Regions from separate parts of the Homo sapiens genome. Here regions 1 and 3 are each linked to region 2. Evidence: promoter capture Hi-C in human tissues and cell types (Jung and others, 2019). All regions are on one chromosome and are shown on one strand. The core of a region is centred on a gene start or on the middle of the fragment in contact, and the rest is flanking DNA. Distances in the headings are between cores, read along the strand shown.

Region 1 (4,490 bases), core at 1,917-4,416, 280 kb before region 2:
ACTTTAACACTAAGCAAATTTTAGCACTATGACATACATCAGGGTGCTGAATTCCTATGAGTTGCTTTAATCCTCTTCCCAAAAAAATTCATCAATTTGCTCTTATTCATAGTCTAAAAAAAAACTTCCCAAGGTTACTTCCTTCCATACAGCCACAGACGAAGGTTTTAACTTTATACACACATACACACACACACACACACACACACACACACCCTTCTCTACAATGTAAAGCAGTCTAACTTTGATTCCCTGGGAAACTGCACTGTTTGTTCAAAAATCAAGGTAAACCTACCTAACATATGAATACCATTAGCTCCTTTAAGGTTACAATTAAAGTTGCCCAGAACTCAGTTCATTATGTTATAGAAACAGAGTATGCACATTATGGTTCTTTCTGTATGAAAAAAAGGCTGATGGCAATCTGGCCAGGAGTACACAGGGGTGAGCTGAACAGTGCCCTCAGGTACTGCAATGCTAAGAGTCTCACTGGAGTGAAGCAGCTAATAGATTTAGAGCACATCCATGTCTTTTGCCAAATGAGGCAAAATAAAGTAAAAAGTCTTTAACAAATGGAGCTATGAAAGAGCCTGAAAAGCCTGAGAGCTACACAAGAGCTCTATTACTAATATTCTTCCCTGATTAAAAAAAACAGAGCTTTGTTTTGCCTGTAACAGACACTATCAATCCTCCCAGTAACTTGAAGGCAAATATAGCCACATGACAGCTCATTAGCATTTCAGAGAAAAAAACTATGATATTTAGTGAAAAACAAAATGTGTAATAATGAAACCATAGCTCCCTATGATGACACTAGGGGCCCAGCTCACAAACTAGGCAGTCAGAACTTTGGTAACCTTATCTTTTCTAAAGCTAAATTTTCCTGCAGAAGTGCCTCAAGACCAAAGAAGAGGACAATTCCCCAGCTTTACCTCTGGCTGGATTAGGCACACTCAAGCCACAAAACATAATACAAAGAGAATGTTGCAAGTAATCAGACTTGCAATTCAAGGAAAGCACAGTAAAGCAGAATCAAAAGACTCTCTAGGTCAGGGGTTCCCAACCCCCAGTCCATGGCCTGTTAGGAACCAGGCCACACAGCAGGACTGAGTAGTGGGGAGCAACTATTACGGCCTGAGCTCTGCCTCCTGTCAGATCAGCAGTGGCATTAGATTCTCATAGGCAGCATTAGATTCTCACAGGAGCACAAGCCCTACTGTAAAATACACATACAAGGGATCTAGGTTGCACCTTTCTTATGAGAATCTAATGCCTGATGATCTGAGGTGGAAGAGCTTCATCCCAAAACCTTGCCCCCCTGCCTCAGTCCATGGAAAAACTTTCTTCCACGAAACTGGTCCCTGGTGCCAAAAATGTTGGAGACCACTACTCTAGGTGGATCATAAGATCATAAGCACAGAGCAGTTCACAGAAAGTGCACAGGACGAGGTGCTCATCTCCAGTTTTCATCCCCATGTGGTATATATAGTATTTGTCATCTGCATAGTACTTTGTATGTCCAGACTATTTTATAATCACAATTCTGGGATTATTTCATCACAATAATCGAGTGTGACAGATTAAAATTTACTGTCCTTCTTCTAAGCATTCAGATTACAGTAGATGGGAAAAAAATCAGGATGGCAGAACAGAAAAACAGACTCTTGTAAGGTCTCAAAACCTTGTCAAAAACATGATAGAATTTCTGAATTTTAGGATTTGAAGAAATCTAAAGTGTCCAATGGTTTCCGATGCTAAGAAACTAAAGCTCAGAAGGGTTGTAAGCAATTTGCCCAAGGTCTCCAAATAAGTAAGTGGCAAAGCCAGGAAAACCCAGACATCATGACTCCCAAGTCAGCCTTTCCATACATACAACCATAGTGCCTTTTCCAAAAGCCAATAATAAAATAGATGCGGAGGATTCTGAGCTGTCTGGCTCAGCACGTTATCTTGTCTTTCAAAATGCTAAGTCTCAGGCAGGCGTGGTGGCTTGCGCCTATAATCCCAGCACTTTGGGAGGCTGAGGCAGGAGGATCACCTGAGGTTGGGAGTTTGAGACCAGCTTGACCAACATGGAGAAAACCTGTCTCTACTAAAAATGCAAAATTAGCCGGGTGTGGTGGCACATGCCTGTAATCCCAGCTACTCGGGAGACCGTAGCAGGAGAATCACCCAGGAGGCAGAGGTTGTGGTGAGCCAAAATCGCACCATTGCACTCCAACCTGGGCAACAAGAGTGAGACTCTGTCTCAAAAAAAAAAAAAAAAAAAGCCAAGTCTCTTGAGCTGGGCACAGTGGCTCAAGCCTTAATCCCAGCACTTTGGGAGGCTGAGGGGGGTGGATCACTTGAGGTCAGGAGTTTAGGACCGGCCTAGCCAACATAGTGAAACCCCATCTCTACTAAAAATACAAAAAATTAGCTGGGCGTGGTGGCGCACGCCTGTAGTCCCAGCTACCTGAGAGTCTGCGGTGGTAGGATCGCTTGAACCTGGGAGGTGGAGGTTGCAGTGAGCCAAGATCGCACCACTGCACTTCCAGCCTAGGCAAAAGAACAAGACTCGGTCTCAAAAAGAAAACAAAAAAGTCAAGTCTCTCCTCATATTCACTTACCAAAGAACAAAAATATTACAAGTCCAGAGAAGTCATCACTTCTGCCGATCTGAAGGGAAGAGGAAACAAGGCAGTCCAGGCCTCAATGCTGCTGAGCAGGAAGGCTCCATGGTGTAACTTGTTCTAGATGTCTGAGGTCGATGATTACTACTTTAATTTTTAACTTGTATGTAAAACATTATATAAACTTTTTTAAAAATCACATAGGCTAAATTTATAACAAAAAGTTATATATGCTGTATGATTCCACTTATATGAGGTACCTAGAGAGGTCAAAATCATAGACACAAAGTAGAAGGGTAGTTTCCAGGGGGAAGGAGGAGGAGGGAATAGGGACTTATTTGTTTAATGGGTGTAGAGTTTCCGTTTCACAAGCTGAAAAGAGTTCTGGAGATGGATGGTGATGACAGTTGCATAACATTATGAATGTATATAATACCACTGAACTATATACTTAAAATGATTAAGATGGTAAATTTCATGTGTATTTTAACACAATAAATGAAAGTGGGGGAAAGAAAGTAATAGTGAAGACAACATGACCAGAATAACATTTTAAAAGCATCAATTAGACAGCTAAAAGAACAGAGCTAGGTGATGGCAGGGGATGAGAGTTAGCAGAGAATGCAATTAGGAGGCTACTGGAGAAGTCTAGGAGAGAGATGAAGGTGGCTTAGCCAAGGGCAATAGTTGAGCAGAGAGATATAGTAAGACTTGGGATATATTTTAAAGCCTGAGTTAAAATTTCATGAACATATATCCTAACACAGTATTTTTAACTGCAATTCATAATACACAGGTCACAGAATCAATTTCCTAGGCCAACATCAACATCTTGCAATTAAATAAAATGGAATAAAATAGAAACGAGCAGATTGCACTGCACCTAATAAGGGTAAGTATTATTTCATGAAACTTTTGTTTTAGATATCGATATACTTACGTGTGTATTGGGTCTGAATGTAAAATACATCTTGAACGATGAACCACAGCCAAAAATGTTGAGAAACATTGCCCTAGAGACTGATAAAATGGTAGGTGGAAGTTGAGAGTAATTATTTTTTTTTATCTCCATCAAAGTCCTTACTAGGCTCAAGTGAAACAAGCTACAACAAGTTGAATTACATACCTAATAAAATCTTATTGATCTGCCAAACAAATACATCATTTGCTCTTCAAAAAAAAAAAAAAGAAGGAAAGAAAGAACAGTACAAACAATAACCAGGCATCACTGGAATGCGAAGCACAAATTGTATTATTTCCATCAACCATGAAGATACAAAGATTACTAAAGGAATAATGCCAATCTTCTTTAACCACTAAACCACTCTAGCCATTCAACTACTCTTAATTTTAGAAGTTAAACCCTACCAAAACACATTCATAATGGCAAACGCCCTCAGAATCTTCAGGAAAATACCTTACTCTCCCAACTGAGAAAATATGGCCTAATTCCCCTGGAATAATTCAGAGATTACATACTAAAGCTCTGAAGGATTTGTTCAAAAAGCTTCCTGCCATGAGCAATCACTGTTTTTTTCACTGATCAGGTCTTTATTAAAAATAAGCTGTCCAAAATTATTTGACCTTTATGGAATAAACCAACAAGCTCATGCAGCAGGCTTCGTTTCCTCTGTGGTAGGTTTTTTTTTCAGCTACTGATGTCTTGGTTGGTAGCTGCTGCCCTTTTTCCCACCAGAGGTTTCTCCTGCTTAAAAACAACAACCTTCTTTCCTTTCTTCCCTACCACAGGCTTCTTGACTGCAACCCCCTTTCTCATCTGATTTGGCCTCTAGTGCTGCTGGTGCTGCTGGTGCTGCTGGTGCTGGTGCTGGTGCTGCTGCTGCTGCTGCCACCGCCGCCGCTGCCTTATCCACCTGG
Region 2 (4,586 bases), core at 1-2,500:
CAAATTCTTATTAGCACCAACTGTCACCACAAACTCATCCTTTTCTGACATACCCATTCAAAAAAACTACTAACCAAATGTCCACAATCCTGCTAAAAGTGTTGAAAAGCTCTTAGTATAGTATTAAGTGTTATCTACAAAATTTGTGATTAACCAAAACACACACAATTGTGTTCAAATGTTATATATTTGAAGAGTCAATTTAACAATTCCTTTTGGTAGACTTCTTTTGCACCTCTTTACGCTTCTTTTTTTTCCTCTTACCACCCTCTTTGACTCCTGCTGAGAAAATAGGGGGATCTCTGTTGCTGGTAACCCAAGATATACCTCCCTCATCATTGTCCACGAAAGTATATTGAGATACATGTTTGGAGCTGTGAGAATTTGGTGAATAGTTGTTGAATGACTGTGTTCTCCAGCTGCATTCTTTTGCAAAGCCCTCTTCATTGGCCACACTATTTACAAGAAAAAATGTCAACTCTCCATTATCTTCAGCTTCTCTTTCTTGATCACTTTCAATAATTTTCTTTGTATTAATATTTCTGCCATTAACGATTTTGTCTGAAGTTGTAACAGATATGTAGTTGTCCATCCCACTATTATCAAAAGCCAGGGAAGAGAAAGAAGTAAGGCCTTCATGCCCCAATGAACCCTGTGATGTATATCCTGTATCATATGAAGAAAATTTCTCAAAAATTGGATATTCACTGGCAGTGGAGAAAAAGTATCCTGCATCTCTGTTTCTGTTTCCATAGGAGCTTCCTGGACGATTTAACAGGTCCTCAAGCGAGTCTTCAAAGAAGTGAAAAGAAAATGGATCCCTTTCATGAAAAATTTCTTTAAAAACATCATCTGGCTTATGGAATGTGAAGCCGTACTCACATTCATCATCAAAATGACTTCCACCTCCGTTTAATCCTTCTGTGCCATATTTATCATAAATGTCCCGTTTCTCATCATTTGATAATACCTCGTATGCCTCAGCTACTTCTTTGAATTTTCTCTCTGCTTCTTCTTTATTTTCTGGATTTTTATCAGGGTGCCATTTAAGTGCCACTTTATGATAAGCTTTTTTAATGTCCTCAGGTGAAGCATATCTTTGCAGTCCTAGAACTTCATAGTAATCCACCATGTTTTAACAGATAGTTGGAAGTGGGTGTGCTGGGTATTGAGAACCGTGGTTTCCTCAGCTCAGGCTCTGCTGGTGGTGGTGATAGAGGTAGTGACTGCAAATAGGTACACTTTTATGTTAAAGACAATGTTATTACCATGTGCTAAGAGATGAGGATACTGATTATGTGGCAAGCAGAGTTACAAATATGTCAGAGAGGGCTGCATTATGGTGTCATTCTGGGGTCAGTGTAGGGACTGGACCTTCCAAATAGAGCTAGTCCAGAGTCGTACCAGACCATCCTGAATCCTCTGGACTGTTTCCCCTGTATGTTTCCCTGGAAGCTTCAGGCAGTGCCTCATAAGCCAATGGAATCTGTTGCTAATAGCCACAGCATATCCCTTGCATAATATGACCTCTAGATTACTGCGCCTTAATTGCTTCCCAGCTCTTCTATGCTTTGGTTTAGAAAAATGAAGTACTGACTTACGGGTGAAGAAAGTATTCAAACAGTTGACATATTTATTTCAGTCAAGAAACAGTTCAGAGGGAGATACAAACAAGTAACTTAGTTACAATATAATAGTTATGATGAGAGGAAGTACTGGATGCTAAACAATTATATGAGAGACAGCTCAGGCTGGGGGTGTCAATGAAAGCCTCTTGGAGGAAGTAGCCTGATATGTTAACTTTCTGCATGCCAGTGGTAAGTCATTTGAGATTATAGTATCTTTGTCCACCCAAGGTTTACTGCTGTAAAACATGTAATTAAAGATTTGGAAAGTTGTGTGTTTATGTATTCACTGTATAATTATTGATTGTCTACTTTGTGCCAGGCACCGTTTTAGCCACTGGTGATAGCAGTATTGAACAAAAGACACCAGTTTTCCTGGTGCTTGCATTATAATAGAATACAAATAGGAGAACAAATAAAATAATTTAAGATAATGCGATATGTGCTCCAAAAAAAATAGCAATGTGCTGGGGGCAGAGCGCTACTTTAGATTGGTTTTAGAAGGCTTCTGAGGAGATGACATTATTGCTGAGACCTATATGACAGTCAGCCACATAGTGATCTAATATGGTAGCCACTGGCCATGTTGATGGACATTTTGGTTGTTGCCAGTTGGGGCTGTTGGACATAAAGCTAGCACTTATTTCAAGTACAGTGGGAAGCCTTTGTGGGGAGTGGGGAATATGCAAGTTTAATGATGTGATTTACATTTGTAATGGATCAGTGGCTACTATTTGGAAATTCAGTCATGTATGGGAAAGTAGAATTCGAGAGCCAAATTAGAAACAGACCAAAGGTGATTTTCTTTGGGGATAAACTACCAGTAGTCTAGACCCGAATTTAAAGGTCTTATATTCTATACCTGGCTCATTTTATTGTCTGAGAAAATTCCCTGTAATCTTTGTTTTTCCTCCTCTATGTTGTGTTTATTTTATTTTCCATCACATTTATAACCCCTCAGTTAAATGATACGCTAATGAAATCTAAAACTGTAGTGTATGCTTCTAGTCTTTCAAGACCATTTGTCAGGTCTGAATATTTTTTTGCTTTGCATTTTTATATATACTCATTTTTTAGAGGTATTGTGAAATGCTTAAAACTCAATTTAAATTCTCTCCAGTGTATGTGCTTACATGTACTTATGTGTGGCTTACCCATGATTATAATTTGCCTACCACTGGAAATAATAACCAATAATGTCGAAAATTATTTGAGTACCCTCTGAGTCACACTGTAGCAAGTGCTCATTTAACTGACACAGCACTCTAGCAAAATAAATATTTTATGCCCATAAGAAAACAGACGTTCTGAGAGAGAAAGTAATTTGTCTAAGGCTACATAGCTTGTTAGTGAAAAATCTGATTTTTAAACTTGAGTCTAATTTCAAGTTCTCATTCCACTCTACTGCATTTCTCGGACTAGGACTTAAAGAGTTTAGGTTCTAGGCATTCCACAAACAGATACTGAGAACCTGCTGTTACCGGAAAGGGGTCCCAATCCAGACCCCAAGAGATGGTTCTTGGATCTCGTGCAAGAAAGAATTTCAGTGGAATCCACAGAGTAAAGTAAAAGCAAGTTTATTAAGAAAGTAAAGGAATAAAGAATGGCTACTCCATAGGCAGAGCAGCCCCAAGGGCTGCTGGTTGCCCATTTTTATGGTTATTTCTTGATTATATCCTAAACAGGAAGTGGATTATTCATGCTTCCCCATTTCAGACCATATAGGGTAACTTCCTGACGTTGCCATGGCATCTGTAAACTCTTGGGGTGCTGGTGGGAGTGTAGCAGTGAGGACAATCAGAGGTTACTGTCATTGCCATCTTAGTTTTAGTGGGGTTTGGCCAGCTCCTTTTTTTAAGAACATCACAGGTAAAGCTCACAGGAAGGTGACAGTCTAGGAGAAGATGTTCGCAGTGTCTAAATTTGACAGGGACTTATTTTATTTTCATTATTATTGTTACTATTATTATTATTTGAGGTGGAGTTTCGCTCTTATTGCCCAGGCTGGAGTGCAATGGTGGGGTCTTGGCTCACTGCAACATCTACCTCCCGGGTTCAAGCCATTCTCCTGCCTCAGCCCGCTGAGTAGCTGGGATTACAGGCATGCACCACCACGCCCGGCTAATTTTGTATTTTTAGTAGAGAGGGGGTTTCTCCATGTTGGTCAGGCTGATCTCGAACTCCCAACCTCAGGTGATCTGCCCGCCTCAGCCTCCCAAAGCGCTGGGATTACAGGCATGAGCCACCGCACCCAGCTGGTCAGCTTCTTTACTATAACCTACCTGTTTTATTAGCAGGGTTTTTGTGTCCTGCATTTTGTGCTGACTTCCTATTTCATTCTGTGATTAAGACTGCCTTAACTTACTGGGAATGTAGCCCAGTAGGTCTTAGCCTTATTTTACCAAACCCCTACTGAAGATGGAGTTGCTCTGGTTCAAACGCCTCTGACACTATGATACAGAGAAAAGGTAGAAAATAGGAAATTCTGCTCTTAAGAAATTCATATAGTTTGAAAAAACTAATTTCAGTGGAGTGTAAAGTTATAATACGAGCACTTGTTTCTGCAGTTATACCCTTCTTTGTTGATCCTTTGCCTCCCAGCCATCCGCTGTGCCATTTTCTCTGCCTCTTCACAACAAAACTTATCCAGAGTATTGTCTCAGTGTCTTTGCTTTCTTACATCCTATTCCCTCCTTGGCATACTCCAATCTGTCTTCTGTCTTCTTTACTCTGCTAAAATCGCCAGGGTCTCCAGTGATTGATGTTACCATATCCAGTGGTTGTCCTTTTGGCTTCCTTGTATTTTGAAGCACTTGCCACACTGTGAGCCCTCCTCACTTTTTTTTTTTTTTTTTTTTGAGATGGAGTTTCACTCTCGTTGCCCAGGCTAGAGTACAGTGGTGTGATCTCGGCTCACTGCAACCTCTACTTCCCAGGTTCAAGCCATTCTCCTGCTTCAGC
Region 3 (4,132 bases), core at 203-2,702, 400 kb after region 2:
TGGTGCATGGCACAGAAACCACACTAAACACACTGCCCAGAAGAAAAAGATTCCAAAGGACCTGCAGGCCTTGGTTAGACACCCAGACCATGGCGTCTGAGCTCCCAAGAGGCATAGGTCAGCAAGGCCGAGACCCAGAGACCTAATCAAATCAGTGGTCAGGGAGGCACAGAGAACCATCAATCAAACTCCAGGGTAGGCCTGTCTGCCCAGGAGGCCCTCTGGTCCTGGGTCCAAAACTCATTCCCCAACTCACCCCATTACAAGTATAGGACAGGCCAGACAACTCCTGGCCAGTAGGAAAGCTCCCTGAGCCTCAGTTTCCAGGCACTGCTGGGCAGGAGAAGGGAAGTAATGGAAGGAAAACCGAAGCATTTTGCTAGAATAGAGTCTCTGGCTCTCCCAGCGTATGCCACTCACTCTAGGTTGGGCCACGCCTGCTTTCTGTGCTGACGCAAACGTTTTTATATGTTTCTGTTTGTTTGTTTGTTTGTTTGTTTTTTTGAGACGGAGTTTTGCTCTTGTTGCCCAGGCTGGAGTGCAGTGGCGCCATCTCGGCTCACTGCAACCTCCACCTCCCGGGTTCGAGCAATTCTCCTGCCTCAGCCTCCCGAATAGCTGGGACTACAGGCACCTGCCACCACACCCAGCTAATTTTTGTATTTTTAGTAGAGATGGGGTTTCACCATGTTGGCCAGGCTGGTCTCGAACGCCTGACCTCAGGTGATCTGCCCGACTCGGCCTCCCAAAGTGCTGGGATTACAGGCATGAGCCACTGCACCACCGTGCCCGGCCCATTTTTACATCTTAACACAGGGATAGCTTATTGCCCAAGTGGACTTGGGGGAGGGCTGGCTAAGGCAGGCACAGAGCCTGCCCCTGCTCACCCTCACGTCAGGCCGAGGGACACAGGCACCCTCTGCAGGGGAGGCCACTCCAGCTCCTCAGCCTGGGGCTCCATGGGCCTCACAGCACTAGCTATGTGATCCACTCCACCCCATCTCTCTAAGCCTATGCTGAGTCATGTGGAAAAACTGGGATGGCATCAGCCACCTTTCAGTGTGGGTGGGAAAAGTTAAGGTATTGCATATTCAAATAAGATATCCCCAACTGCTGTTACTTCTGTGTCCCCAGCCCTTTTCTCCCTTTGGTTAGAAAGTGTGTGTAGGGGTTGCAGCCTGGCACTCAGTGTCCTCCAACCCTGGGTCTAAAGGCACTGGGATGGAGTTGGAAGAGAATAATACGGCAGGCCGCCCTTGATGCAGGTTCTGGGAAGCAAAGAAGCTCCACTCTACACTGACCAGCCCAACGTGAAGCTCTACACTGACCTTGCCTGAGGACACCTCCCTGGGCAAGGCCCTGTCTAGGAATAAAGGTGAGCTGTGACGGTGCCCCCCCTGAGCATATGCTCCTCTTTTCAGACTCCCTCTGCCTATGTGCCAGGCTCTACCAGCTGCTCTGCGGGTACAGTGAGTATAGGGATGCCCCAAGCCCTGAGTTTTGCAGAGCCAGCAGGCTGGAGCAGGTATGCAGTGGCACTCCCTCTGCGTTGCCAAGCCAACCCAAGAACTGGGGATGGTTGCTTGGCAACCCCACCCTCATGGACGCCTCTACCCTCCGGCCACAGGCTGTTGCCTTTGAGGCCTTTCTCTTTTGAAAACAACGGCTGACCATCCCAGATGGTGGTGGCCAAGGGCCAGGGCACATATGTCAGACGGATGTGGATGGACCAGGGGACTCTGCGGGGAGGGGGCTGCCACACCCACCTTGCCGCCGCCAATGCCCATGCCACAGTTGTTGAGCTTGAGTTCCTGCAGGGTGAAGCAGGCTGAGCTCTTGAGCAGGGCCTCGAAGCCTTGCACACCGTCGGGCCCGAATGCGTTGTCGCTTAAGTCCAGCTCCACCAGCTGAGCCCCAGCTGTGATGAGTCCTTCCCCTAGTGAGATCTGGGCACAGAGGAAGCTCGTGTCAGTTTCATAGACACCCAGCTTCTGTGCTGGGTGCTGCTTCTGTGCCAGGCCCAGCTCTGCCTTCCAAGGACACCCCGGCTGGTGCAGAACCAACACAGACACAAACCATTTCAGTATTCTTAAGACTGGAAACCCTGCAAAGGGCTCCTAACAGCTGGAGAGTGGGGGATGCGTATGCCTGGAGTGGCCCGGGAAGGCTCCTTGTAAGAGGTGGCATTTGGACTTAGTCTGGATGAGAATCAGCTAGTCAACATGAAAAGACTCCAGGCAGCTGAAAAAACAGGAGCAGAGAGACATAAGCATGAAGCAGCAGGCTGTGAGCCTGGAGGAAAGCTGTGGGTAGGCTCCAGAAGAAGCCGTGGCATGGGCTTTGGGTGGAAGGGAAGTGAGGGGTCAGATCAGGCAAGAGCCTTGAATGCCAGGCCAAGGACTGTGAGCCTCAGCCTGAGAGCAGTGGGCTTTGAGGTGGCTGAGGGATATGGAATTAATATCCCCAGACCTGAGGTGAGCAGATGCACAGAAAGGGGGGCTGGAGTGCCCACCCAGGAGTGTGAGGCAGCGACACTGGCAACAGAGGGGACCTGCCAGCCGGTGTGACAAGTGTGGGAGAGGAGCTGCCTGTTCATGGAGCAGGGGACATGCAGAAGCTGTTGGTTCCCTGTTCGTGCAGGAGGAGGGAGGGAGGAACCACAAATGCCTCCAGGGTTTCTGGTGGTGACTGGCAGATGGAGGTGGCCATCTCTAAGCCACGGCCAGGATCAGCTTTGACAGGGTGATTTGAAGCTCTCCTGGAAACCTCCTGGGCTGGGGAGAGCTACATTCCCTCACCCCACCAGGAGAAATGGTCAGAGAGGAGGCTCTGCCAGAGACTGGGTCAGAAATGGGGCTGAGCAGGTGGTCCATGGGGGCAGGAATGTGGAAGGGAGACTTTCTGCCCTCACCCTGGCCACAGATATGGCAGATGAGGCAGTTTCTACCATCCTCCCACCACTCAGTAAGCAAAAGGCAATGTGTCCTCTCGTTGCCCTACCCACAGAAAGCCTAGCCCCTGGTGGCTGGGTGCGGTGGCTCACGCCTGTAATCCCAGCACTTTGGGAGGCCAAGGTGGGCGGATCACGAGGTCGGGAGATCGAGACCATCCTGGCTAACACAGTGAAACCCCATCTCTACTAAAAATACAAAAAATTAGCCGGGCATGGTGGCGGGCGCCTGTAGTCCCAGCTACTTGGGAGGCTGAGGCAGGAGAATGGCATGAACCCGGGAGGCGGAGCTTGCAGTGAGCCGAGATCGTGCCACTGCACTCCAGCCTGGGAAACAGAGTGAGACTCCGCCTCAAAAAAAAAAAAAAAGCCTAGCCCCTGGCGATCTGGCCTCAACTGACCTCTAGCTGCTCAAACACCCTGTGCCTACTCCACCACATGCCATCTTCTAACCCCAAATTCTCTTATCCCCCTCTTAAGATTTATTCTCACGATTGGGAACATAGAGATAAGAATACTTTCTCTTCCCCATTCCTACAGAGTCAAGTAAAAGAAAACAAAAACCAAAAGAATACCTTCTGAAAGCTCAGGGAAATGAAATGCTAAAATTTAGGCAAAACTTGCACAGTGAGAATTCCACAGTGAGTATGCAAAAGAGAGTTCTCTTCACCATCTTTTCTGACTTGAAATTCTTTTTTTTTGAGATGGAGTCTCGCTTTCTCTCACCCAAGGTTGCAATGCAATGGCACAATCTCAGCTCACTGCAACCTTCACCTCCCAGGTTCAAGTGATTCTTCCGCCTCAGCATCCTGAGTAGCTGGGATTACAAGGCCCCTGCCATCACGCCCAGCTAATTTTTGTACTTTTGTAGACACAGGGTTTCAGCATGTTGGCCAGGCTGGTCTCCAACTCCTGACCTCAGGTGATCCACGTGCACCGCCCCCCACCTTGGCCTCCCAAAATGCTGGGATTACAGGCGTGAGCCACTGCGCCTGGCCTAACTTGAAATTCTTTAACATGCAATCACTGAAATGAATTTCCTTTTTTTTTTGAGACGGAGTCTTGCTTTGTCACCCAGGTTGGAGTGCAGTGGCATGATCTTGGCTCACTGCAACCTCCACCTCCTGGGTTCACGCAATTCTCCTGCCTCAGCCTCCCAAGTAGCTGGGACTACAGGCAGGT

What was found. Contacts are between HindIII fragments. The study calls those that stand out against the background at their distance.
Region 1: a fragment that was not itself captured here is called in contact with the fragment with the promoter of DNAJB7 in region 2 in 1 of the 25 tissues and cell types used here (dorsolateral prefrontal cortex).
Region 3: a fragment that was not itself captured here is called in contact with the fragment with the promoter of DNAJB7 in region 2 in 1 of the 25 tissues and cell types used here (dorsolateral prefrontal cortex).

The regions. Positions count from the first base shown.
Region 1 is chr22:40,582,481-40,586,970 of GRCh38, forward strand. The region is part of intron 2 of MRTFA (myocardin related transcription factor A); the gene reads right to left. It also overlaps the pseudogene RPL4P6. Among named protein-coding and RNA genes, the nearest start is that of MRTFA, 52 kb to the right of the region's middle. The HindIII fragment of the contact is 5,364 bases long and covers 485-4,490 here.
Region 2 is chr22:40,860,863-40,865,448 of GRCh38, forward strand. DNAJB7 (DnaJ heat shock protein family (Hsp40) member B7) reads right to left here and starts at 1,251. Exons shown (of 1, transcript NM_145174.2): 1 at 1-1,251. The coding sequence starts at 1,132. The coding sequence ends at 203. All of the region lies in intron 1 of XPNPEP3 (X-prolyl aminopeptidase 3), which reads left to right. The HindIII fragment of the contact is 4,259 bases long and covers 1-3,622 here.
Region 3 is chr22:41,262,898-41,267,029 of GRCh38, forward strand. RANGAP1 (Ran GTPase activating protein 1) reads right to left here. Exons shown (of 16, transcript NM_002883.4): 5 at 1,767-1,946. Among named protein-coding and RNA genes, the nearest start is that of MIR6889, 12 kb to the left of the region's middle. RefSeq lists an enhancer at 1,223-2,098. The HindIII fragment of the contact is 7,310 bases long and covers 1-4,132 here.